Regions from separate parts of the Homo sapiens genome. Here all the other regions are linked to region 3. The links are contacts of gene promoters, found by promoter capture Hi-C in blood cells and fetal thymus (Javierre and others, 2016). All regions are on one chromosome and are shown on one strand. The core of a region is centred on a gene start or on the middle of the fragment in contact, and the rest is flanking DNA. Distances in the headings are between cores, read along the strand shown. Region 1 holds the start of LDHAL6A (lactate dehydrogenase A like 6A). Region 2 overlaps TSG101 (tumor susceptibility 101). Region 3 holds the start of HPS5 (HPS5 biogenesis of lysosomal organelles complex 2 subunit 2). Region 4 overlaps UEVLD (UEV and lactate/malate dehyrogenase domains). Region 5 overlaps SAAL1 (serum amyloid A like 1). Region 6 has its middle 11 kb from the start of SAAL1.

Region 1 (3,786 bases), core at 782-3,281, 130 kb after region 3:
TCCTTTCCTTTTTTTTTTTTTTTTTTTGAGACGGAGTCTCGCTCTGTGGCCCAGGCTGGAGTGCAGTGGCACGATCTCGGCTCACTGCAAGCTCCGCCTCCCCGGTTCGCGCCATTCTCCTGCCTCAGCCTCCCGAGTAGCTGACGCCTGGCTAATTTCTTTTATATTAGTAGAGACGGGCTTTCACCGTTTTGCCCAGGCTGGTCTCGAACTCCTAAGATCAGGCAATCCGCCCGCCTCGGCCTCCCAAAGTGCTAGGGTTACAGCCGTGAGCCACCGCGCCCGGCCAACTCCTTAATATTTAATTTCATGATGGGGGTGCAAAACAATTAGGGGGAACATATCTACAAAGACTCTTGAGGGAGTGATAATGAAAAAAGATTGAGAAACACTGCTCTACATTTTATAAAAATTTGTCAATATGTATTACTGTATTAGGGTTCTCTAGAGGGACAGAACGAATAGGATAGCTATATATATAAAGGGGAGTTTATTGAGGAGTATTGACTCACACAATCACAAGGTGAGGTCCCACAACAATAGGCCGTCTGCAAGCTGAGAAGCAAGAAAGTCAGTCGGAGTTCCAAAGCTGAAGAACTAGGAGTCCAATGTTTGAGGGCAGGAAGCATCCAGCACAGGAGAAAGATGAAGGCTGGAAGACTTAGCCAGTCTAGTCCCTCCACGTTCCTCTGCCTGCTTTTATCCTAGACGTGCTGGCAGCTGACTAGATGGTGCTCACCCGGATAGAGGGTGGGTTTGCGTCTTCTAGCCTACTGACTCAAATGTTAATTTCCTGTGGCAACACCCTCACAGACACACCCAGGTTCAACACTTTGCATCCTTCAATCCAATCAAGTTGACACTCAGTATTAACCATCAAAATTACGTATTATGATTCACAAATGAGAAAACAATTAGGTAAAATGTGGTGGGAGAAGTAGAAACCTTGGTTTATTCCAGACTGATTTTCAATTCTACATTTTTGTTTTTTATTTTTGAGACGGAGTCTCACTCTGTCACCCAGGCTGGAGGGCAGTGGCATGATCTCGGCTCACCAAAACCTCCGCCTCCCGGGTTCAAACGATTCTCCTGCCCCAGCCTCCTGAGTAGCTGGGATTACAGGTGCGTGCCACCACACCCGGCTAATTTTTGTATTTTTAGTAGAGACGGGGTTTCGCCATGTTGGCCAGGCTGGTCTCGAACTCCTGACCTCAGCTAATCCACCCGCCTCGGCCTCCCAAAGTGTGGATTCTACATTTAACCACTTAATAATGAATTGAGCTTTCCCTTCATCTTGTAAAAATGGTTATCAATTGGCACTGCATTCATCAAATTCTTCAGGTTTCATATCTTATTTCCAAATTCCTTTTGCATACAGAGTTTTGTTGTTGTTTTGAGACAGGGTCTCACTCCGTCACCCAGGCTGGAGTGCAGTGGCACAATTTCGGCTTACTGCAACCTCCGCCTCCCAGGTTCACAAACAATTCTTGTGCTTCAGCCTCCCAGGTAGCTGGGATTACAGGGGTGCACCACCACGTCCAGCTAATTTTTGTATTTTTAGTAGAAACGTGGTTTCACGATGTTGGCCAGGCTGATTTCGAACCCCTGACCTCAGGTGATCCGCCCGCCTTGGCCTTCCAGAGTGCTGGGATTACAGGCGTGAGCCACCACGCTCGGCCCAGAGTTTTAAAATTTTACTTTTTCTACTTTAGCTCACATTTGAGGTGGTAAAAGTTAATCTTGAGGTCCCTTTCTCCTACAGGGCTGGGGGAAAATTTTCACGTGAGAGTCAAACAGTCCTTTTCAGATACATCCAGACAAGGTTTGGTTAGAAATAAAATTACTTGGGCTCTCTGGTGGATGGGTTCTAGGCAAACAACTCCGCCCAACAGCAGAGGCCCTGCACTGCGTTGTGCCTGCAGCACCTCGTGCGCCTTCTGCAGCCGGCCAACCACCTACACCGCAGCCCGCCCACCCGCACGCGGGGGCGGGGCGGGCAGGCAGAGGCGCAGGCGCGGTGCTTCGCAGCCCGCTTCCGGCCTCACACCTGCCAAGCATCACACCTGCCAAGCATCACACCTGCCAAGCATCACACCTGCCAAGCATCACACCTGCGATGCCTGCACGAGCTGGGTGCGGTCCGCGCAGCTGCAGTAAGGGGGCGACCCGGCGTCTGTTAGTCGGCGGTTCATCTCCTTCGTGCCTCGATGAGCTTTAACGCCATTTTCCTCCATTCTCTTTCTTCACCTCTTGAGTGAGTGGCCATGAGCTGGGCTGCAAGAGTCCTGGGGAGCAGCCAGAGAGCGGGCGCCGCGGGAGCGAATTGTTTTTGCCCAAGGATGGTTCTGTGTCTCCGCCAGGCGGCATGTGACCTGCTCGGGCGCGGGTGGCCCTTCACCCCTGTGAGTGTGGCCAGAAGTACCTCTCACCTGGACCTGCGGACCCCGGGCGCAGTCCTGGAGCTGAGAACTGGAGGTTGGGGGAACAGCAGGGTAAAGGGGAGAGAAAAGGGGGTCAGCTGCGGGACGGAGTGCCGTCCCAGCTGTAGTTTCATGTTTGGTGGAGCAACCCCTGTTCCTTTCCTCTCTCTCTCTCTTAATTCCTCTTAACTGTACTCACGCTTCCTTCTCCTTCCCCTGGTCCGCTTCATGGATGCTGAGCTGCCTGGCCAGAACCTACCCAGCTTCTTTGCTGGTCAGATTTGTCGGTCTTTTGTGTGTCTGCAGCACCTCCTTCCACACGGGCCCAGGAGTTCTCTATACGCGCTCTCACCGCAGGTCTTGGAATTCCAAGCCATTTCCAATTCCAGGTCTTGGAAATGGCTGTGCAATTTGTCTTCACTGTTAGGTTTCCAAGATGGCAACTATCAAGAGTGAACTTATTAAGAATTTCGCGGAAGAGGAGGCCATTCATCACAATAAGATCTCCATTGTAGGAACTGGATCGGTTGGTGTGGCTTGTGCTATCAGCATCTTATTAAAAGTAAGTTGTGTGCTCTGCACCACAGGGTTCACCTCAGTTGGAGGCGAGGCCACAGCGTATGGTTGTGGAGGTTGTGTCCAGTTCAAGGTGGTGAGTGGGGAGCCAGTGTGAGGGGCATCAGAGGAAAAGGTGCCCTTTTTTTAGTTGTTCACCCAGAGGGCGCTCCTTTTTAAAAATTGTATGATGATATCATGTGGGTTAGAAGCATCTCTGTGAAAGTATGTTGACATTTCACTTTCACGTAATGACAATATGAGGTACCCCTTTGCTTGATTTGGAAACTCAGCTCACAAAACAAACTGGAGAGAAATAGGTGGCAGAAAAGAGTATACAAGCGTGTCAGTGATGGTAGGCAGCCTACGAGTACCAAATACAATAATCTTTTTTCATTTAAATATCTCTCTCCCATTTCCTAGTCTGTATATCTTTATTTCCCTTCGTTCCTTATTCATGTTAGGTTAGTTTTAGTGTTTAGCTGTTCTTAGTATTGATACAGCTGATAAAGTTTTATGGCTATAGACAGAGGCCAAAAAAAGATTCTGACCCCTTTCTAAGAATATTACCCTGATATGAACTTTATTACCATAAAGTTTTAATAAATCATAAGACACTCTGAGCTATACTTTTATTAATGAAATATCTGTAAAATGTTTTAGCCATCTTTTATATAACCTTTAATCCTGGCATGAGTCATTGGATTTAAAGGATTGCCTCTGGGTTTCATATCTAGATGACATAGTGACCTTATGGCACTAAGGACAGCAGCCACAGCCAACTGCTGCTCCTGCCAGCCATACAAATTCC
Region 2 (4,100 bases), core at 1,119-3,618, 180 kb after region 3:
GAAATGTCTATTCATGTTCTTTGCCCACTTTTTAATGGTTTGTTTTACTGTTGAGTGGTTTCAATACCTTGTATATTTATTAGTTCCTTGTCAGATGGGTACTTTGCAAATATTTTCTCCCACTCAACAGGTCGTCTCTTTACTTTGTTGACTATCTCCTTTGTTGTGCAGAAGCTTTTTTTTTTTGAGACAAGGTCTCGCTCTGTTGCCCAGGGTGGAGTGCAGTGGTGCGATCTCAGCTCACTGCAACCTCCACCTCCCAGGTTCAAGCAATTCTCTTGCCTCAGCCTCCCAAGTAGCTGGGATTACAGGGGTGTACCACCACGCCCAGATTTTTGCATTTTTAGTTTTTAGGAGAGACGGGGTTTTACCATGTTGGCCAGGCTGGTCTTGAACTCCTCACCTCAAATGATTCGCCCGCCTTGGCTTCCCAAAGTGCTGGGATTACAGACGTGAGCCACTGCATCTGGCTCACAAGCTTTTTAATTTAGTATCATCGCAGTAGTCTATTTTTGTTGACTATGCTTTTGAGATATTAACTATAAAATGGTTGCCTAGGCCAATGTCCCGAAGGGTTTCCCCTATGTATTCTTCTAGTAGTTTTATAGCTTTGGGTCTTACATTAAGTCTTTAATCCATCTCAAGTTGATTTTTGTATGTGGTACAAGATAGGGGTCCAGTTTTCATTCTTCTGCATATGGATACCCAGTTTTCCCACCACCATTTATGAACAATGTCTTTTTCCCAATATATGTTCTTGGCACCTTTGCTGAAAATCAGTTGGCTGTAAATATGTAGATTTATTTCTAGGTTCTTTATTCTGTTCCATTGGTCTGTTTCTGTTTTTATACCAATACCATGCTGTTTCGGTTACTATAACCTTGTAATATATTTTGAAGTCAGGTAGTATGATGCTTCCAGCTTTGTTCTTTTAGTTCAAGATCACTTTGGCTATTTGGCTTCTTTTTTGGTTCCATATACATTTTATGATAGCTTTTTCTATTTCTATGGAAACTGACATTGGTATTTCGACACAGACTGCACTGAATCTACAGACTGCTTTGGGTAATATAGTCATTTTTACAATATTAATTCTTCATGGGCATGAAATGTCTTTCCATTTGTTTGTCTCAATTGGACTCTTTAAGGCTTTTTTAGGGCATGGTTCTCTGTGCTGATGAGTCATCCAGTAGAGAACAAAACTTGAGAGGAAGGAACTGCTGAAGTGATGCCCCTGAGTACATTAGAGGGGATAAGGTCTAGTGGAGAAATCAGCTTTAGATAGAAGCAAAGATAACCAACTTATGGTAACAGGGAGAAGGCAGATATGGTGGTGCAGGTAGTGGGAGATAGGCATAGGTGAAGGCTGGAGTCTAAAGAAATTCTCTCACTGCCTTAGTTTTTTTAGTTGAAGAAAATTATATTTCAGGTAACGCTAATAAGCAAACACAAAAAGCAAAAACTACTGGTCTTCAATCATTTGTCTGATTTGACCTGCTCATATTAACCCATTTTACTTTCTTCTCTTAATGATGGTGATCTGTTTTCACATATAACCAAGCTAGGAAAATCTATGTATCTGCTAATAGTTCAACACATGTTTGGCTCACAAATAAAACTATGTGATCAAAAGAAAGATTGATGAGTTAATCAGATTTATTTTCATGCCCTGGTAGAAGGTTCATTTATATGTTAAGTCATTTACTTCAAGTTTAAGATTATAGTACATTATTATAGGTTTTCCTCTAAGAAGAAAGAGTAGTCCAAAATTCACAAGTGAAATGTGCTTTTCACAACAGGGAGTTAGACTTTGCTTATATGGTGAAACACAAGTTTTCAAGGGTACTTACCAACAGTGGTCACAGGAGGCTGAGAAGGGTACTGAGAACTTGTTGTGGCAGGATATGGACCACCAGGTGGGTAAGGACAGCCTGGGTAACCACTAAAGACAAGAACAAAAAACATTTAACATTTAAGATGACCCAACCTTATAGTATTTTGAAGAACCCCATTCAGGAAGTTAAGCTTGACATATGGTTGTTTTACCAGTTGATGAATTTATAGTCTTGGAGCTGCAAGTGTTTATTCAAGTAAAGCTCTATGGAAATTGTATTAATGACACTGCATTTACTCTTAAATGGCTAAATGCTCTTGCTTGGTCCCAGTTATATGAGAGTCACCCTCATAGCAGCGGAAATGTAACTAGAGTATTTCTAAGGACAATCCAACAGCATCAGAAGCAACAAGTAATTTGTGAGAGAACTTTTCCGATTTCTCAGTCTGTGGGAAAATGATACTATTTAATTTGTACCTGTGGCTTATTGGTAACCTTTGGGGATATTTAACCCGAAAACACTTGTCTTTAAATAGTTTTTTTCCTCTTTTGATAACATTCGTACCAAACTCATCTTTAGTTTAAAAAAAAACCTTTTTTCTCACTTTCTGGACAGTTTCTGTCATTCATGTATTCGTATCAAAGTCAGAGGAACTTTCCTTAGAGGTATTCTACTCCAATCACCTTTCCAACAATCTCTTATCTACACACATCATTTATAACATCCCTGACAAATGGTCATCTTTCTCTATTTAACATTAAACATCATTTCAATATAATTTATAAATAGGAGTCCTAAATTTGCATTTTGGAAGACACTCAACTATTTGGAGACTCCTAAAACTCGAATATTTGAGAACTTCTAACATTTTTCCCTCAAGCTTCTCTTCTTCAGGTTAAATTTTTTTTTTTTTTTTTTTTGAGACGGAGTCTCGCCCTGTTGCTCAGGCTGGAGTGCAGTGGTGTGATCTCAGCTCACTGCAAGCTCCACTTCCTGGGTTCACGCCATTCTCCTGCCACAGCCTCCTGAGTAGCTGGGACTATAGGTGCCCGCCACCACACCCGGCTAATTTTTTGTATTTTTAGTAGAGACGGGGTTTCACCATGTTAGCCAGGATGGTCTCAATCTCCTGACCTCGTGATTCACCCGCCTCAGCCTCCCAAACTGCTGGGATTACAGCTGTGAGCCACCGCACCCAGCCCTAACTATTCTTAATTCCTTTAACCATTTGTCTCAGGACATGATTTTCAGATCTAATTGCTTTCCTCTGAATGCTTACTAGTCAGTGTTTCCCTTACAACGAAGAAGAAAATTAGAATAGGATGATTACTGGCCACCTGGTTAGTTAGACAATAAATCTCAATTAATCCTATTTTAGCTATAATTATCAATTCTATGACATTTGCCTTTTACAAGCGCATTAAAATTACTGATTAAAAAGAGCTAGCCCAGGCTGGGTGCAGTGGATCACACCTGTAATCCTAGCACTTTGGGAGGCTGAGGCAGGTAGATCACTTGAGTCCAGGAGTTCAAGGCAAGCCTAGACAACATGGCGAAACCATTTCTACAAAAATAGAAAAATTAGCTAGGTGTAGGGGCACACACCTGTAGTCCCAGCTACTTGGGAGGCTGAAGTTGAAAGATCACCTGAGCCCAGGAGGTCAAGGCTACAGTAGCTGAGATTATGCCACTGCACTCCAGCCTGGGCAACAGAGTGAAGCCCCCATCTCAAAAAAAAAAAAAAAAAAAAAGCTAGCCTAGGACACTGGAGCAAGAGCTCCTTCTGAGTTTATCGTCAATAATCCTTTTTCAATGCAGTGGTTCAAAGATTCTCCTATTTGTATTATCAGCTTCCACTTTATAACTTGTCCTCAACTAAGTTTTATATATGACTTGCTGAAGATTCAATGTAATCATGGTACTTCTCTTATATATCAGTATAAAAGCAAAATCAGACAAAAAAAAAAGAAAGCATTTTTGTTCCTAGTGGACACATGCTGGAGGCTACTGAACACAGTACTTTTGTTTCTAGTCTCTTCAGTAATCCATGCTATAATGCTGTAAAGAAATGTCAATCCTACTGAAATTTCTAAATCCACCTTTCTGAAAACTGGGATAAACTGCTCTTTTTTTCTGGAGTTTCTCCCATTTTGCATACCTTTGCAAAGATAATGTGATCACATTGCTGAATTTTTTTGTAACTTGGTATAAAACTCTTCTAAGCCTACAGATATTAACTTCAGAGAAATCTCCATCTGTAGCTTT
Region 3 (4,301 bases), core at 1,797-4,296:
AAATATTTGAGAATTATTGACCTAAGAAAATCTTCCCTCATTGTTTTCACTCATTCATTTCATTGAGTACCTAGTAAAGTACCAGGCACAGTGGTAAAAATAAGACAAGTAAAATAATTCCAGAAGTCAGTCAGTTTATAATACGGAGGAAAAGACAAATACCACACACACACACACACACACACACACACACACACACACATCTTATAAGGGAAACATAAGCAAACTGCTTTGTTAGAACTTTACAGGACAGAGGGATCACATTGAATTAAAGGGAACTGAAGAAAACGCTCTAAGGAAAGTAGTACTGATGCTGACTAGGCTTTTATCTCAAGGAAAAGGGAAAGGGTAGCAGGTAGGGTAGCAATAAGCAAATATATAGAGAAGAAAAAAATGCAGAATATACTAGAAGAATACAAATTTAGTCTTTGGTTGAAACAGGATACAAGCAACGGAATAATGAAAGATAAAGCTGGAATCTTAATTTGGGCCCAAGTTACAAAACACTTTGAATTTCAAACCAAAGAACCTGAACTTAACTTGGCAGGCAACAGAAAGGAATTGAAGAATTGTGTGTTGGGAGGTCACACAATTTCTGTAAAGTGCTGTGGGTGGTTAGATGCTAGAAAACAAAGACTTGAGAAAACGGGTGGGTGATATGAAAATGAGGATAAAACATTTCAATTACTCAAGAAGTCTGGTGGAAAAGGAGAAAACCTCTCTTGACGTTATTATTGGGGAGACTCTTCAACAGATTTGTAGGTAGTAGCTAAAAGTAGAGTCTAGAACGAAAGGGACTGAAGATTCAAGAAAAAGATAAAACCATGGTACAGGATCCAAGAGATGGAAAGGAATGATAATATCATAGTGTCTCTTCTACTTGTGATCTTGAAACAAAGAAACTCTGAGTAGGTCATTTTGCCTTAATCTCGGTAAAAAGAGAATGTCCTGGAAGTTATAATATAATGCGGGGGTGTGCAGGGGGACACACCTAGTAAGTTCTACTGAAAAGAAAAAAAGAATTTAACAGAAATGAGAATGGAAAATAAAAACAGCATAAGCAATGCCAATTCTCAGAGAAGCTGCTGAATGACAGTGTTAAACCAACTTCAACTTTATACTTTATGTTTACTCTCCCTGAAATGACTGCTTCCCTTCCAGATTTTCTTATCCAAACATACCCAGCTTTCAAGATCGCACATGAGCCCTACTTCCTAGAATTCTCAAGATGGAAAAAGATTCATAGGTAATTCAGTGAACATGTCCACCTAATTCAGAAATTAGTTTTGCCCTAGATCCCTGAACATTTTCAGCCATGGAAAGAAAGCACTCACTCTCATGAAGCTGCCAATTCCAGTCCTCCAAAGGGCTCACTATTATAAGGTTCTTTTTAATACTATGCTGAAGCCTGATCACTTAGAGCTCTACCATTATTCCTAATTGTATGTAGCTTCTACAGCTGAAGGGAACAAGCTGTCTCTTTCCAAAACAATCCTTCTGTATTTGAAAAGCATTATCAGGTCTTCTAAAAATTTAACATTCCCAGTTTCTTCATCACTCCTGACATGACATTTTCCAACCCTCTGTTCCAGTCAACCTTCTACAGAGGCACTGTAGTTTGCCTAAAAATGAGGTGCCTAGAACTGAGCATAATACTCCTTAAGTAGTTAGATGAGCCCAGAATAGAGTAGAAACACTAACTTCCTGGATCTAGACACTAAGTTTCTATATTACAACCTAAAAACAGTATTAGTTGTGTTTAAGTGGCCATGTTACACATTGATTCAACAGAGCAAGTGGTCAACTAAAACCCAAAGAAATTGTTTACATAAATAAAATCTTCTTAGCCAGTAGCTACATACAGTAGAACTGAGCTCAAATTGAAAGCTGCTATTAATCAAATGCAACAATGGATATAAAAAGTACCTAGAAATGTACAAACAGTATAAAGAGGAACAGCAGAATGCTGATAATTGTTCAAGTTGCGTTAAGTGTACATGAGGGTTCAATTTATTATCCTACTTTTGTCTGCGTTTGAAATTTTCCACAATAAAATTTAAAAAATATATACATAATATTGTACAAGCCTTCAACAGCTCTATTTCTTGAAAATCTGTTATCTCCTCCCTGCTTCTTTTTCCAGCCTTATTTCCCATCTTAACCTCTCTATTCTCCAACTACATTGGACTCGACTCTTTTTTTCTTTTTCATTCCATAAACTTGCTGTGCCTCCATGGTTTAATATATGATGTTTATGGAATCTTCCCCCATTTACCAAAACCCTACCTTTCTGCAAAGCTGAGTTTAAATGTTACTTCTGTGAAGGCACTCTACCAAAAACTAAGAACATAGAAGTTGGCGACAAATGCTTAACCAAAGTAAATGAAACAACTTTTGGGAGACTGGCTTGCCCAAGGATCACAGAGTTCATAAATGGTAGAGCTGAGATTAGAATACGCGTCTCCTGAATCCAAATCTCATCTTTCCATTATCGTAAAATAGTTCAGTGTTTGTTGCTCACACATCAAATGCAAACATGTTTCTCTTTTGCCCCAGTAGGTGCGTGGAGGAAGAGGAGAAAGAAGTAAGAAAGATAGCAAAAATTGAAGAAATGAGAAGGGGAAGTTGCAGACTGCCTCATTTTCACAATGGGATCTTTCTATCCAAGAAGAAATGATCAGAAAACAACTCTCTGCCTCAGACAAATGGCGACTGACTCATTTATACATTCATTCATTCAACATTCTGAGTGCCTACTATGTTCCAGGACCTGAACACACCGCTAGAGACACAGGGATGAACAAAACACAATCCCTACCCACAAAAAGCTCCTTGCCTAGTGGAACTACTACCTTTTTAACAGCAGTAACTTTAATATCTTGAGATTTCTTGAGAGGAGACCCAGTAACCAATTTTCAAAGCCAGGCTCACAGACCAGCAGCCCGGAGGTCCCAGCCCAGCTCCACCACATCCAGGGCAGTACCTCGCAGCTCTCAGTAGATCGGATCTTGTCTCCCGGCTTAGCGCCGGGGAACTCACCGCGCACTAAGAGCGGAACGTGAACTTCAGTCTCCCCTCGCGTTCCTCCCCTTCCTTGCTGACGTCATCCAGGAGAGCCGCAGACTGGAAACAACGCTACTAACGGCACTTCCTCATCACGTGACGAGTCACGCCCCTCCTTCCGCGTGGTCCCTCCCCCTCAGGCCGCGGTCGCGATTACGCTCTCTACGGCCTGCGACCGCAGGGCCGTTGCGGGCTGGAGACACGGCGCCGACTGGAACCGGAGGAGCTCTAGGCCAAATGGTTGGGCCAGCCAGGATCCCAGGACCCTTCGCCGCTCGAGACCGGAGAGAGGAAACGAAACAGGCGGGAACCCGTGGGGGAGGGAGGGAACTAGCGGAAGGTGTCATGGCGGCCGCGCTCTTGAGTCACGTGCCCAGGGCCCGCCTTGCTACTTCCGGTCACGTGCCCTCAGACTCCTCGCAGCCAGCGATGGAGGCGAGACCCCCTAGTAACAGAGGCGGTGGCTACTGCTGCGGCCACTGGGTTTCGGCCTCTTCCCAGCAGCGGCTCTAAGAAGCGCAGCGGAACTCGACCGGATCCAACCCAGTTAGTTACTTCCTGTCTAGAGTTGTAGCTTCCACCTGGTAAGTTTAGACCGAAGAATGCAGGCGGGCGGGTGGGTGGGCGGGTGAGGAGCTGACAGGCCTGGGGGCCGCTGGACGGCGTGGATTCTACCCCTGTTCCCAGCGTCGCTGTCGCCGTCCTCCCAACGCCCAAGCCTGGCGTCTTGTTTGCCCTTATCCCGAGGCGAGGAAGAGGCGACCCCTAATCTACTTGTCTAAAGGAAACCTGCTCTTAAATTGAGAGCAGGTTTACCCAAAGCCAGGATCAGATTTGGCTTATGAGAATGAAGTGGAGGCCTCTCCCAGACAGAGAAGCCCTTCCCGTCAGGAAATGTGCTGTTGAGTCTGGGATTCTGTAAGAGAAAAGCTGTCACCTTGTTGTCTGCACACCTTTTGCTTCCACCTGTCAATCTTACCTCTCTTAAAAACCTTAACACGTGCCAGTCCACACACTCCTAGTTTTGGTCATTTGATTGTCGTGTAATGATGAAAAATAGACCATGAGTACCTGGATATATGTAATTATTTTGTAAATCCCCCAGTGTTCTCAAAGGCCAAATTAAATAAGGAGGTGACTTTTCTTATTTTTTTTTAAGAGACAGAGTCTTGTTCTGTCGTCCTGGCTGGAATGCAGTGGCGTGATAATAGCTCACTGTAACCTCGAATTCCTGGGCT
Region 4 (4,241 bases), core at 449-2,948, 240 kb after region 3:
AAAGATCTACCAGACTATCAGACAGAAAGTGTGATGGTAAAGAAAACAACCCTGGCTGGGCACGGTGGTTCACACCTGTAATCCCAGCAGTTTGGAAGGACAGGATGGGCATAGGCTGGAGTCCAGGAGTTTCAGACCAGCCTGGGCAACATGGCAAAACCCCGTCTCTACACACACACACACACACACACACACACACACACACACACACACACACAGAGAGAGAAAGAAAATAACCCTGCTACACTATGTATTAGCTATGTAACACCAGGACAGTCACTGAATTCGGCCTTACTTTATGAGGTTGTAAGGATTAATTATGTGACACAGGGCTTGCATATAGTAATCCCCTCTAAAACATAGTTATTAATTTTATTGCTAACCATACCCATAAGGAAAATGCAAAGAAAACTATGAGTTACCATTTTCATTTATAAGGCACAAAAAAATCCAAAAGTTTAGCAGTAGTTGTAGGAAAATAAGTATTCTTACATATTATGGGTATGGGAATAAACTGGTATAATTAATAAAAGATAATTTGACAATTTTCTATCAAAAATTTAAAACATTAACTTCTTGAATCCATCAATTCATTTATAGAAATCATCCTACAAATTTATCAGTACATGTGTAAAAGAGTACAATATTAAGGATATTCATAAGACTAGGAACAACAAAACGTTCATCAGTAACAACGAGACAATATAGTGGTTTATAGCAGAGATTGAAAAAGTTTTAAAATGTCACCATGTAATCAATCCGTGAAGCATATATTATCACCAGGGATTTTATTAAAATGCAGATTTTGGCCGGGCATGGTGGCTCAGCCCTGTAATCTGAGCACTTTGGGAAACCAAGGCAGGTTGGTTGCCTGAGTTCAGGAGTTTGAGAGCCCCGTAGCCAACATGGTGAAACCCTGTCTCTCCCAAAAATACAAAAATTAGCCGGGCCTGGTGGCGCATGCTTGTAGTCCCAGCTACTCGGGAGGCTGAGGCAGGAGAATCTCTTGAAGCCGGGAGGTGGAGGTTGCAGTGAGTGGAGATTGCGCCATTGCACTCCAGCCTGGGACAGAGCGGGACTCCATCTCAAAAAAAAAAAAATGCTGATTTTGTTTCAGTAGGTCTGGGAAGGGTCCTGGATTATGCATTGCTAGCAAGAACTCAGGTGGTACCAATGCTGCTAGTTTGAAAGCCACACTTTGTTTAGTAAGGATCTAGAATACAGGCTCTGATAAACAGATTACCTGGTCTTTAAATTCTCGCTTCATCATTTATTAACAGTGTAATTTGGGGCAACTTGGGTAACCGCCCTATGCCTTTGTTTCTTCATTTGTAAAATGTCAGTAATAACAGTACCTAAACAAAGGGTTGTTGTAAAAATGAGTCAAGTGGGCCAGGCACGGTGGCTCATGCCTGTAATCCCAGCACTTTGGGAGGCTGAGGCTGGTGCATCACCTGAGGTCAGGAGTGAGTTCCAGACCAGCCTACCAACACAGTGAAATCCCATGTCAACTGAAAGTACAAAAATTAACCAGGCATGGTGGCACGTACCTGTAATCCCAGCTACTTGGGAGGCTGAGGTGGGAGAATCGCTTGAACCCGGGAGGCAGAGGTTGTGGTGAGTCAAGGTCACACTACTGGCCAGGCACGGTGGCTCACGCCTGTAATCCCAACACTTTGGGAGGCCGAGGCGGGCAGATTGCCTGAGGTCAGGAGCTCAAGACCAGCCTGGCCAACATGGTGAAACCCCGTCTCTACTAAAAATACAAAAATTACCCAGGTGTGGTGACGGGTGCCTGTAATCTTAGGCTAAGGAAGGAGAATCACTTGAACCCAGGAGGCAGGAGGTTGCAGTGAGCTGAGATCACGCCACTGCAATCCAGCCTGGGGAACAGGGCGAGACTTCGTCTCAAAAAAAAAAAAAAAAAAGTTTGCGCCACTGCACTCCAGCCTGGGTGACTGAGCGAGACTCCATCTCAAGAAAAAAAAAAGAGTCAAGTGTTTAGACAAGTGCCTGGTACCTAATAAGCATTGTGTAAAGGTTAGTTGCTGCTGCTACCACCACTACTTTTGTTGCCACTATTATGAGTACTATCACTGTTGCAGTCATAATAGTGGCCTATGAATATTGTACTTTGTATCAAAATATTAACGTCTAAAAAGAAAAACAGAATTTTTTTTTGAGACAGGGTCTCACTGTGTCGCCCAGGCTAGAGTGCAACTGCACAATCGCAGCTCACTGCAGCCTCAACCTCCCAGGCTCAAGCAATCCTCAGCCACCCAAGTTGCTGGGACTACCAGTGTGCACCACCACACCTAGCTAATTTTTAATTTTTGTAGGGTGGAGGCAGTGGCTGACACCTGTAATCCCAGCACTTTGGGAGGCTGAGGCAGGCAGATCACCTGATGTCAAGAGCTCGAGACCAGCCTGGCCAACATAGCGAAACCCCCTCTCTACTAAAAATACAAAAATTAGCTGGGTGTAGTGGCACACGCCTGTAATCCCAGCTACTCGGGAGGCTGAGGTAGGAGAATCACTTGAACCCGGGAGATGGAGGTTGCAGTGAGCTGAGATCATGCTACTGCACTCCAGCCTGGGAGACACAGCGAGACTCCATCTCCAAAGAAAAAAAAAAAAATTTTTTTTGTAGAAATGGGGATCTCGCTGTGTCGCCCAGGCTGGTCTCAAACTCCTGGGCTCAACTGATTCTCCTGCCTTGGCCTCCCAAAGTGCTGGGAGTACAGGTGTAAGCCACCGGGCCCAGCTGAAAAACGGCAAATTTTCCACCCAGACAATTCACAGACAAATAATGACAGTGAGATTCTTCTAACAGTTTAAAAACATGGCCAGGAGCAGTGACTCATGCCTGTAATCCCAGCACTTTGGGAGGCCAAGGCAGGAAGATAGTCTGAACCAGGAGTTCAAGACCAATCTAGGCAACACAGGGAGACCTATCTCTACAAAAAAACTAAAAATTACCTAGGTGTAGTGGCACACCCCTGTGGTCCCAGCTACTCAGGAGGCTGAGGTGGGAAGATCTCTTAAGCCCAGGAGATAGAGACCGCAGTAAGCCATGATCATACCAGTGCATGCCAACTTGGGCTACAGAGAGAAACCTGGTCTCAAAAACAAAAATGAAAAACCATGACTTTCAGACTTTCAGATGCCTTCTTGTGCTTACCAAAAAAAAAAAAAGACAAATAATTACAAATAAATAAAACTTAGTACTGTTAGGGATGTCAAAAATCAGGTTGATGTGCATGTTATTAGCAGCATAAATTAGTTCTGCCTTTCCAAAGAGCAATCTGGCACTATGTCATAAGTGCTATAAAAACCATTCATGCCCTCTGACTCACTAGTACTATTTTTTAAAATTATGTACAACCAGGCCGGGTGCAGTGGGGCATGCTTGTACTCCCAGCACTTTGGGAGGCTGAGGCAGGAAGATTGCTTGAGCCCAGGAATTCAAGACCAGCCTGGGCAACATGGTGAAACTCTGTCTCTACAAAAAAATACAAGAATTAGTGGGGATGGTTGCTGGCGCCTGTAAGCCCAGCTACTTGGGAGGCTAAGGTGGGAGGATGGCTTGAGCTGGGGAGGTGGAGGGTGCAGTAAGCTGAGATTGCACCACTGCATTCCAGCCTGTGCAACAGAACATGACCCTGTCTAAATAAAATAAAATAATGTATGACCAAATAAAAATTCAGATGAGAAAACAAGCAACTTGAAATGTTTATAGAAGCATTTATTTAGTGACAAAAGACTGAATACAACTCAAATTCTAATTAAGAGGTAATAGCAGGCCAGGTACGGTGGCTCACACTTGTAATCCCAGCACTTTGGGAGGCCAGGGCAGGTGGATCACTTGAGGTCAGAAGTTCGAGACCAGCCTGGCCAACATGGCAAAACCCTGTCTCTGCTAAAAATACAAAAATTAGCTGGGCGTCGTGGCGCATGCCTGTAGTCCCAGCTACTCTGGAGGCTGAGGCAGGAGAATCGCTTGAACCCAGGAGGCGGAGGCTGTAGTGAGCCAAGATTGTACCACTACACTCCAGCCTGGGTAACAGAGCGAGACTCCACCTAAAAAAAAAAAAAAAAAAAAAGAGGTGATAGTGTATTCAAATGGAGGGTGAAAGAAATAAAACTACAGCATGCCAAAAGTTGGCATATTTAACTCTGAGCAGCCAGCTTTTAAGATATTCTAGCTCCATGGATATAATTTAATTATTTGCTGCAGTAGA
Region 5 (3,787 bases), core at 724-3,223, 220 kb before region 3:
AATTCCTTCTTGTCCTCCAAGAGCTTAAAACACGGTAGGGGAAAGAAGTCAAGAACTGCTATTGGGTCCTGTCCAAAACCAGAATTTGTGTTTTCAAAATCATCAATAGAATAAAAATTCTGATCACAATGTAACTGTGGCAGCCTCATAACTTCTTCCTACAGAGTCTGCCACAGTGCCTAAAGGGGCGTAACACACAGGTGACATGTGAGTGGACATGTGGCCCCAAATGAGCCAAATCTCACCTAGGAATGTAAGACACAAAAGCTAAGTCAGTTTGCTTGGGGACCTGCAATGTAAAATATATAAATAAAATTAAGTCTCTGGCTGTCCACTGCTTCAGATTTTCACTAAATGTGAGGTGTGTATTTGAGAAGCCTTAACTTAAAATATAAGCTGCATGGCTTATGTGAAAATTAAGGGCCCTGGAACATCTCAAAGAGACAGGCAATTATTCTCCACAGCAAGTGAAACCAGTAACCTGCCAGACAACTGACTGAGAGAGACACACTCTACTTACTAAAGGACCATGGTCAGAGAAAATAGTATTTTCAAAGATACACTCTAAACTGAAAGTCATAATGGCAGATTCTCTTCACTGTAAGTGATCAAGCTGTCCTGTGGGCAATTCTTTGCCACATGCAGAAATTTTTAAATTTAATGGTAATTCCTGGAGTAGCACAAGGGTGGCCTAACAATATCAACACCAACAGTAATAAAATTAACATTCATTGAACAAGTATTAAATGCCAGGCACAGTGAAGTGGCTTGCATGCTATCTCATTTAATTCTCAAAACAACTCTATCAACTAGTTATCATTGTTAGCCCCATTACACTCATAAGCAAACTGAAGTTTAAAAAGTGTAGCAACCTGCCCAAGATTATACAGTCTCAGCAGAGCAAAGCTAGGATTTGAACCCATGAGTCTGATTTGAGCCTATGGTCTTGTTTTTTAAAAGAGATGGGGGTCTTGCTATCCTGTCCATACTGGAGCAGTGGCTATTCACAGATTCACAGGCATTATCATAGCTCACTGCAGCCTCCAACTACTGGGCTCAAGTGATCCTCCTGCCTCAGCCTCCCAAATAGCTGGGAATACAGGCAAGTACCCAGCGAGACTATGTTCTTAACCAGCACAACATGCTACCTCTCAGGTATTCATCTATTCATTCATTACTCCCCAAATATTTTCTGAAAAACCTAATAGGCACTGTTTTAGGTTCTGGGGATACATCAGTGAACAAGCTAAATAAGGGCTCAGTCCCATGGAATTTTCATTCTAAAGAAATGAACAAACAATAAATATAAAACAACTAAACTACACAATTTCTAAATGCTACAAAGAAAATAAGATATGTGCTAGAAACCAAGATAAAGCGGGCTACTTTAGACATGACATTGAAAAGAAGGCATTTCAGAAGGGGTGACATTATGCTTTGATGAGAAGGAATTTAAATCCATCAGAGGACACATGTAACAGAGTGAAGCAATTCTGTGGGAACACCAAAACAAGACAGGTTAATTCTGACTGGAGTGTCTGGGGTGGCATCACAGAGGAGGTGACATTGAAGCCGGGCCATAAACAATGAGAAGGATTTTGCCAGCTGGAAGCCATTCTAAGCAGAGCGGCATGAATAGTGCCCATGGACACGTGAAAGTGCAGGAAGTATCTGGAGGTCTCTGGTCCTCGCACACTGAATTCATGGTTACAGAACGATAGGCGACAAGACTGAGATATAAACTCACCAGACTTTGCGCCAGGGACCTCAATTGTCAGTGGAGAGCTCAGTTCTGAGTGGTGCCTCAAGGGCACCTCTTGTAAGGGAGCAAAAGGAGGCCAAAGAACATGACTTTGCCCTGCACCAATAACCTCCTTCAAACAGTAGCGCTGTTTTCTCAATTTTAAAACTGAGACTTTCACCCTAAGAGTTCATTTAAAACACAGGTTTTATTTCTTTTTAAAAAAATTTGTTTAACCATAATTTATCAATAATTGTAGAATAGAAAGTAGATCTGAACAATACTCTCAACCAACCTGATCTGACATTGAGAATAAGATATTCCACCCAGCAACAGCAGAACACACATGCTTTTTAAGTCAACATGGTAAATATTTCAGGTTTACTTAAAACCATATTCTGGGCTATAAAACAAATCTCAACACATTTAAAAGGATTCAGTGTTCACCAACCACAGCAAGAGAAAGATAACTGAAACATTCCCAAATATTTGAAACTTACCTATAAACCAAAGAAAAAGTAAAGAATATTAGAAAGTATTCTGAACTTCTGCGGGCATGGTGGCTCACGCCTGTAATCCCAGCACTTTGGGAGGCCGGGGCAGGGGGATCACTTGAGGCCAGGAGTTCAAGACCAGCCTGGCCAACATGGCAAAACCCCATCTCTACAAAAAATACAGAGCGAGACTCTGTCTCAAAAAAAATTGTAAACACAGCATATCAGAAATTGTGGAATACTGGTAAAGCATAAATATTTAGGGAAAATTCTATAGTGCTTGATGTCTATCTTTAAAAAGAAAAGATTTCAAACTATAAAGTATGTGGACAACTGATTTTTGACAAAGACACAAAAGCAATTAGTGGAGAAAGGATCGTCTTTTCAACAAATGAACTTGAACAATTAAATATCCATAAGCAAAAAAATAAACTTCATCCATCCTTGCACCATATACTATACAAAAATCAACTCAAAATGGATCACAGACTTATATGTAAAACCTAAAATTATAAAACTTTTAGAAGAAAATGTAAGAAAACAACACAATTAAAAAGCAGGCAGAAGATTCAAACAGGTACTTCACCAAAAAAGATACACAGAGTACAAATAAACACATGAAAAGATGCTCATCATTAGGAATTAAGGAAGTCCAAATTATAATCACAATGAGCTATCATTACATACTTATTAGCATGGCTAAAATTAAGAAGACTGACCATACTAAGTGTTGGTGAGGTTGAGGAGAAATTGGACCTGGAATTATGTCTCATACACTGCTTGTGGTTATGTAAAATGGTAAAAAACTGCTTAGGAAAACAAATTGAAAGTTTCTTAAAAAGTTAAGCATACACCTACCGTATGATCCAGCCATGCCACTTGATATATGGTCTGGCTCTGTGTCCCCTCCTAAATCTGACCTTGAATTGCAATCCCCATAATCCCCACGTATCAAGGGCAAGACTAGGTGGAGGTAAGTGAATCACGGGGGTGGTTTCCCCCATGCTGTTCTCATGATAATGAGTGAGTCTCATGAGATCTGATAGTTTTATAAGCGTCTGGCATTTCCCCTGCTCGCACTTCTCCTTCCTGCCACCGTGTGAATAAGGTGCCTGCTTCCCCTTCCCCTTCTGCCATGATTGTAAGTCTCCTGAGGCCTCCCCAGCCATACTGAACTGAGAGTCAATTAAACCTCTTTCCTTCATAAATTACCCAGTCTCAGGTATTTCCTTATAGCAGTATGAGAATGGACTAACACACCACTCTAGGTATTCACCCAAGGAAAAACAAAGTATATGTCCATACACACTTGTATACAAAAGTTCACAACAGCTTTATCTGTAATAAGCCTTAAACAACTCCAACATTCATCAACAGGTAAAAAATAAATTGTGGTATATACATATAATGGAATACCATTCAGCAATAAAAAAAAAAAAAAAAGCCACTGATATACACAACATGGATGAATCTCAAAATAATTATGCTGTATAAAAGAGCCAGACCAAAAAAAGCATATGAGCACATTCATATAAAACTCTAGAATACATAC
Region 6 (3,960 bases), core at 384-2,883, 210 kb before region 3:
TCTTGCTAGCAGTTTCCTGGCCATATATAAGCCCCAGTAGAACCACCATCAAGGTAATTCACTGTAGGTTTTACTGGGATAAGTGGAGCTAGACTTACCTTCCAAAGGCACCACATCCTATTTGCCATTTCTTAGATAAAGGATGAGCTATGTGTTCACAAATCCGAAACTCTTGTTTTGAAAGCAGCAGAGTACCTTGATTAAGAGCAAGTTCTGCAGAGCAAGACTGCCTGGGTTAATCCTGCTCTGCTTTGGAACTTCTTTACGTATCTTGGGGTTTGTGTGTGTGTGTGTGTGTGTGTGTGTGTTAGTGTGTGTGTGTGTGTGTGTGTGTTAGCTTCTCTGTTAAGGGATAATGCTGCTTGCATCATAGGACTAAATGATGGAAACCAATTCATTAGTACATTTAAACAGTGCCTAGTACGTATTAAAATCTCAGCTAAGCTTGGTTGTTTTTATGGGGACGGTTGGCTCCGTTCAGCTTCCCCATGGACTCGCCTCACACTTTTGATCCACCTGCTTCCTGGCTTCCCAGGAGACATAGACATGAACTGTCCCAGATTTCCCACTAGGGGGCAGTAGAGCCCCACCGGTATTATGGGAACATGCACCCCTCAACTCCACATCTCTCTCATGGTCCTGCTGAAAAGAGGCAGCTCACACCTTATGCGACCTCGGCTGGAGGATCCTCATAGAAGAGTGTCAAAGCTGTCCAGAAAAGCATGAGGAACCACGCTTATGAAAAACCATGCCCCTTCTCTATCCATCTGTGGCATCACTAGCACCTTTGCCCAGTGGGGATGTGGCCTCTGCTCAGCTGCATCCTGGGGGCAGCCAGAAGCAGCCTCCTGCCCCCTATCCTGTGGACCTCACCTTGGCCAGCTGCCTTGAGGAATGTTAACCATCCTTGGCTGCTGACACCCAGGACCAGGGAGCAGAAAATGATGCCAGTGGAGAGCTTCATCCTGCTGCAGGGCCAAGGAAACACAACCAAGGATAATACACATTCTGTTTCAAGTTTTTATTTTTTGTAATGTTAGTCCATTCTTTCATTCCAAGAAAAAAACCCACTCGGTTTTACACACGCACACACACACACACACACACACACACAGGTGTATGTGTATAGATAAAAGATAGAAGGTCAGAGGGTCTACGTCTCCATTTCCATTTGTCTCATTGGAATCCCAGTATCTGACAGAAGAGGAGCAGTGACCCAGGATAAAGCAAATAGACAAAAGTCACACCATGTTTGAGAATCATTATTTTAGATTAGAGCCTGCCAAAATTAGGAATTATGCCTCTTTCTGGGTTCTGAGCATATTTTAGGCACAGTAAAATGAAAGTTATAAGGCAGATAGCTGTCAGAGGATTTCCCTGTCCCTTTGGTTCTTATCTAAGGCAATGCTAAGCAACATTTGAATATTCCCTACACAACTTCCATTCCTTGGAAAAGGTGGGATTCCCTGTGGTCAGTGTAGTATCTGAGCTGGCGTGGCTCACTTGGTCCCAGGAGTAGACAGTAGAAGAGGGGGAAGAGGAGGGGAGTTGTCAACCATCCACAGCCACTGGTCATGGTGTACTTGGAGGAGCTGCTTCATAAAGCAGGGCATGTGATGTCCAGACCTCCTTTTTCCTACTCTTCTTCAGGCAGAAATTGAGGGCCAATGATCACATCCTGTCACAATTATTTTACTCCCTTTGGAACCATTCAATGCTGGAAATCTACTTTCTCGTTTTATTCAAGTCATTCTCTTCTTTGATAGAAGTTGATATGGTTTGGATCTGTGTCCCCACCCAAATTTCATGTTCAATTGTAATTCCCAATGTTGGGAGTGGAGCCTAGAGGGCGGTGATTGAATCAGGAAGGCTGTTTCTCATGAAAGGTTTAACAGCATCCCCCTTGGTACTGTCGTCGTGATAGTGAGTGAATTCTTTTGAGATCTGGTTATTTAAAAGTGTGCAGTACCTCCCCCCTCACTCTCTTTTGTCCTTGCTCCCACCATATGAGATGCCTCACTCCCGCTCTGCCTTTGCCATATTGAAAGTTTCCTGAGGCTTCCCCAGAAGCAGAAGCCACTATGCTTCCTGTACAGACTAAAGAACCATGAACCAATATAACCTCTTTTCTTTATAAAGTACCCAGTTTCAGTCATTTCTTTATGGCAGTATGAGAACGGACTAATACAGAAGTATTAGAAAGCAAGTGGCGTGGAGACACTGGCTCATGCTTATAATACCAGCACTTTGGGAGGCTGAGGCAGAAGGATCACTCGAGGCCAGGAACTCAAGACCAACCTGGGAAACATAGCAAGACCCCATCTCCACTATATATCTGTATATATATTTTTTAAATTAGCGGGGTGTGGTAGTATGCACCTGTGGTCCCAGCTACTCAGGAGGCTGAGGCAGGAGGACTGCTTGAGCCCAGGAGTTGGAGGCTATGGTGAGCCATAATCACACCACTGCACTCTAGCCTGGGTGACAAAGTGACACACTGACTCACAGGAAAAAGAGCAAGAAAGCGAGTATGATTTCTAGATACCAAGAGGAACTCCTCACAGGGACTTTGACAAGCCTTGCCTGTTTTCTTCCTTTGTTACTTAATGTATTCTGCCTTCCGGGAAGGTACACGCAGTTTCTTATGGTGCCAAGCTGAGAATAATAGACAATAACGGCAGTCAGTTCTTTTCACTTGTTTCTCCTGAAAAAGAAAGATTTCCTGTCATGATATCAGAGTCCCCAGGCCTTAAAGGGATTTTCCAACAGTCTCTTACAAGTGACTACGTGTGCTGGTTTGCATGAGATCAGTGTCTATTGTCCAAGCTTAATAGTGGCACATCTTTTCATTGTCTACAATGGCCTGGATTGAACAGTAAATCAGATGGTAGCACTACTCTGATAACCTTGTGTGACCAGGCTGATTGAGAGGCCCAAGACACCTCCATTCTTTTAAGTTACAATTAATTTAAGTAGAAGAGGAGAATACTAAGGCTTAATTCTATTAGGAATTAGAAAAACAAAAATCAGAAAAGCCCAAAAGTCCACAGGTATCATGACTAAGAATGACATCTCAGACCTAAGCCCCAGTCTTAGAAGACCAGCGGGAAGAACTTTATATTCCCTAAATATAAAATGAAGAAAATAATGATACAAAATCACTACCCTCAAAAAATTCACATTTAATGAATCCTAGTTACCAGAATAGTAGATATAGGAAGGATGCAGAAAAATACAACTCCCTTGTAGGGTTGTTGTGAGGATTAAATGATTAATGCTGACAGGGACTTGGGTTAATTCTGGGCACGTGTAAAGCATTTAATTAATTTTAGAGCTTCCACCTTAACCAAGAAAACGCATAATAATTTATATTTTCCAGGAGACAGAAATATTAATTACAATATTGTTACCAAGGCAACCTATTATTAAGACATTAGTAAGTAAGATTACCAATTAGAACTACAGTTATAAGGACCAAGGTTTATTTTCACATAGTGTCAGAGACGTTTGAACCAGAGCGACTCTATTTGGCATGAGGGCTAGGAAAATGAGGCTGAGATTGCTAGGCTGCGTGCTCAGAAAGTTAGGCATTCCTAACCTCTAGATGTTTACAGTTAAGGGAACAAATTCGTAATGTTTACTAAACAGACCCAGACTTGGGAGTGTGCAAATATCCCAATATTTGGAGAACAAAGACATTCCTAATTTTTCTTTGAAGATAATAACATTGGCCGGGCGCGGTGGCTCACGCCTGTAATCCCAGCAATTTTGAAGGCCCAGGTGGGTGGATCACGAGGTCAGGAGTTCGAGAGCAGCCTGGGCAAAATGGTGAAACCCCATCTCTACTAAAAATACAAAAAGCAAAATTAGCTGAGTGTGGTGGCACGCGCTTGTAGTCCGAGCTACTTGGGAGGCTGAAGCAGGAGAATTGCTTGAATCCAGGAGGTGGAGGTTGCAGTG

Evidence for each region. Contacts are between HindIII fragments. The CHiCAGO score rates a contact against its expected background, and 5 or more counts as called.
Region 1: a contact is called between the fragment with the promoter of LDHAL6A here and the fragment with the promoter of HPS5 in region 3, in 6 of 17 cell types (activated CD4 T cells, non-activated CD4 T cells, naive CD8 T cells and 3 more). The highest score is 9.4, in activated CD4 T cells.
Region 2: a contact is called between a fragment that was not itself captured here and the fragment with the promoter of HPS5 in region 3, in 6 of 17 cell types (naive CD4 T cells, naive B cells, monocytes and 3 more). The highest score is 6.7, in naive CD4 T cells.
Region 4: a contact is called between a fragment that was not itself captured here and the fragment with the promoter of HPS5 in region 3, in 1 of 17 cell types (neutrophils). The highest score is 5.3, in neutrophils.
Region 5: a fragment that was not itself captured here is called in contact with the fragment with the promoter of HPS5 in region 3 in 2 of 17 cell types (total B cells and naive B cells); the score reaches 6.5 in total B cells.
Region 6: a fragment that was not itself captured here is called in contact with the fragment with the promoter of HPS5 in region 3 in 2 of 17 cell types (naive B cells and total B cells); the score reaches 8.9 in naive B cells.

Annotation. Positions count from the first base shown.
Region 1 is chr11:18,453,825-18,457,610 of GRCh38, forward strand. LDHAL6A (lactate dehydrogenase A like 6A) reads left to right here and starts at 2,032. Exons shown (of 7, transcript NM_144972.5): 1 at 2,032-2,982. The coding sequence starts at 2,857. The HindIII fragment of the contact is 8,824 bases long and covers 1-3,786 here.
Region 2 is chr11:18,500,636-18,504,735 of GRCh38, forward strand. TSG101 (tumor susceptibility 101) reads right to left here. Exons shown (of 10, transcript NM_006292.4): 7 at 1,851-1,942. Among named protein-coding and RNA genes, the nearest start is that of TSG101, 24 kb to the right of the region's middle. The HindIII fragment of the contact is 690 bases long and covers 2,024-2,713 here.
Region 3 is chr11:18,319,094-18,323,394 of GRCh38, forward strand. HPS5 (HPS5 biogenesis of lysosomal organelles complex 2 subunit 2) reads right to left here and starts at 3,047. Exons shown (of 23, transcript NM_181507.2): 1 at 2,853-3,047. GTF2H1 (general transcription factor IIH subunit 1) reads left to right here and starts at 3,474. Exons shown (of 15, transcript NM_005316.4): 1 at 3,474-3,647. RefSeq lists enhancers at 2,545-3,494, 2,632-3,831, 2,722-3,021, 3,032-3,451. The HindIII fragment of the contact is 9,902 bases long and covers 1-4,301 here.
Region 4 is chr11:18,559,922-18,564,162 of GRCh38, forward strand. The region is part of intron 6 of UEVLD (UEV and lactate/malate dehyrogenase domains); the gene reads right to left. Among named protein-coding and RNA genes, the nearest start is that of UEVLD, 27 kb to the right of the region's middle. The HindIII fragment of the contact is 5,555 bases long and covers 1-4,241 here.
Region 5 is chr11:18,098,159-18,101,945 of GRCh38, forward strand. All of the region lies in intron 2 of SAAL1 (serum amyloid A like 1), which reads right to left. Among named protein-coding and RNA genes, the nearest start is that of SAAL1, 6.0 kb to the right of the region's middle. The HindIII fragment of the contact is 8,611 bases long and covers 1-3,787 here.
Region 6 is chr11:18,115,113-18,119,072 of GRCh38, forward strand. It overlaps the pseudogene SAA3P. Among named protein-coding and RNA genes, the nearest start is that of SAAL1, 11 kb to the left of the region's middle. The HindIII fragment of the contact is 2,382 bases long and covers 443-2,824 here.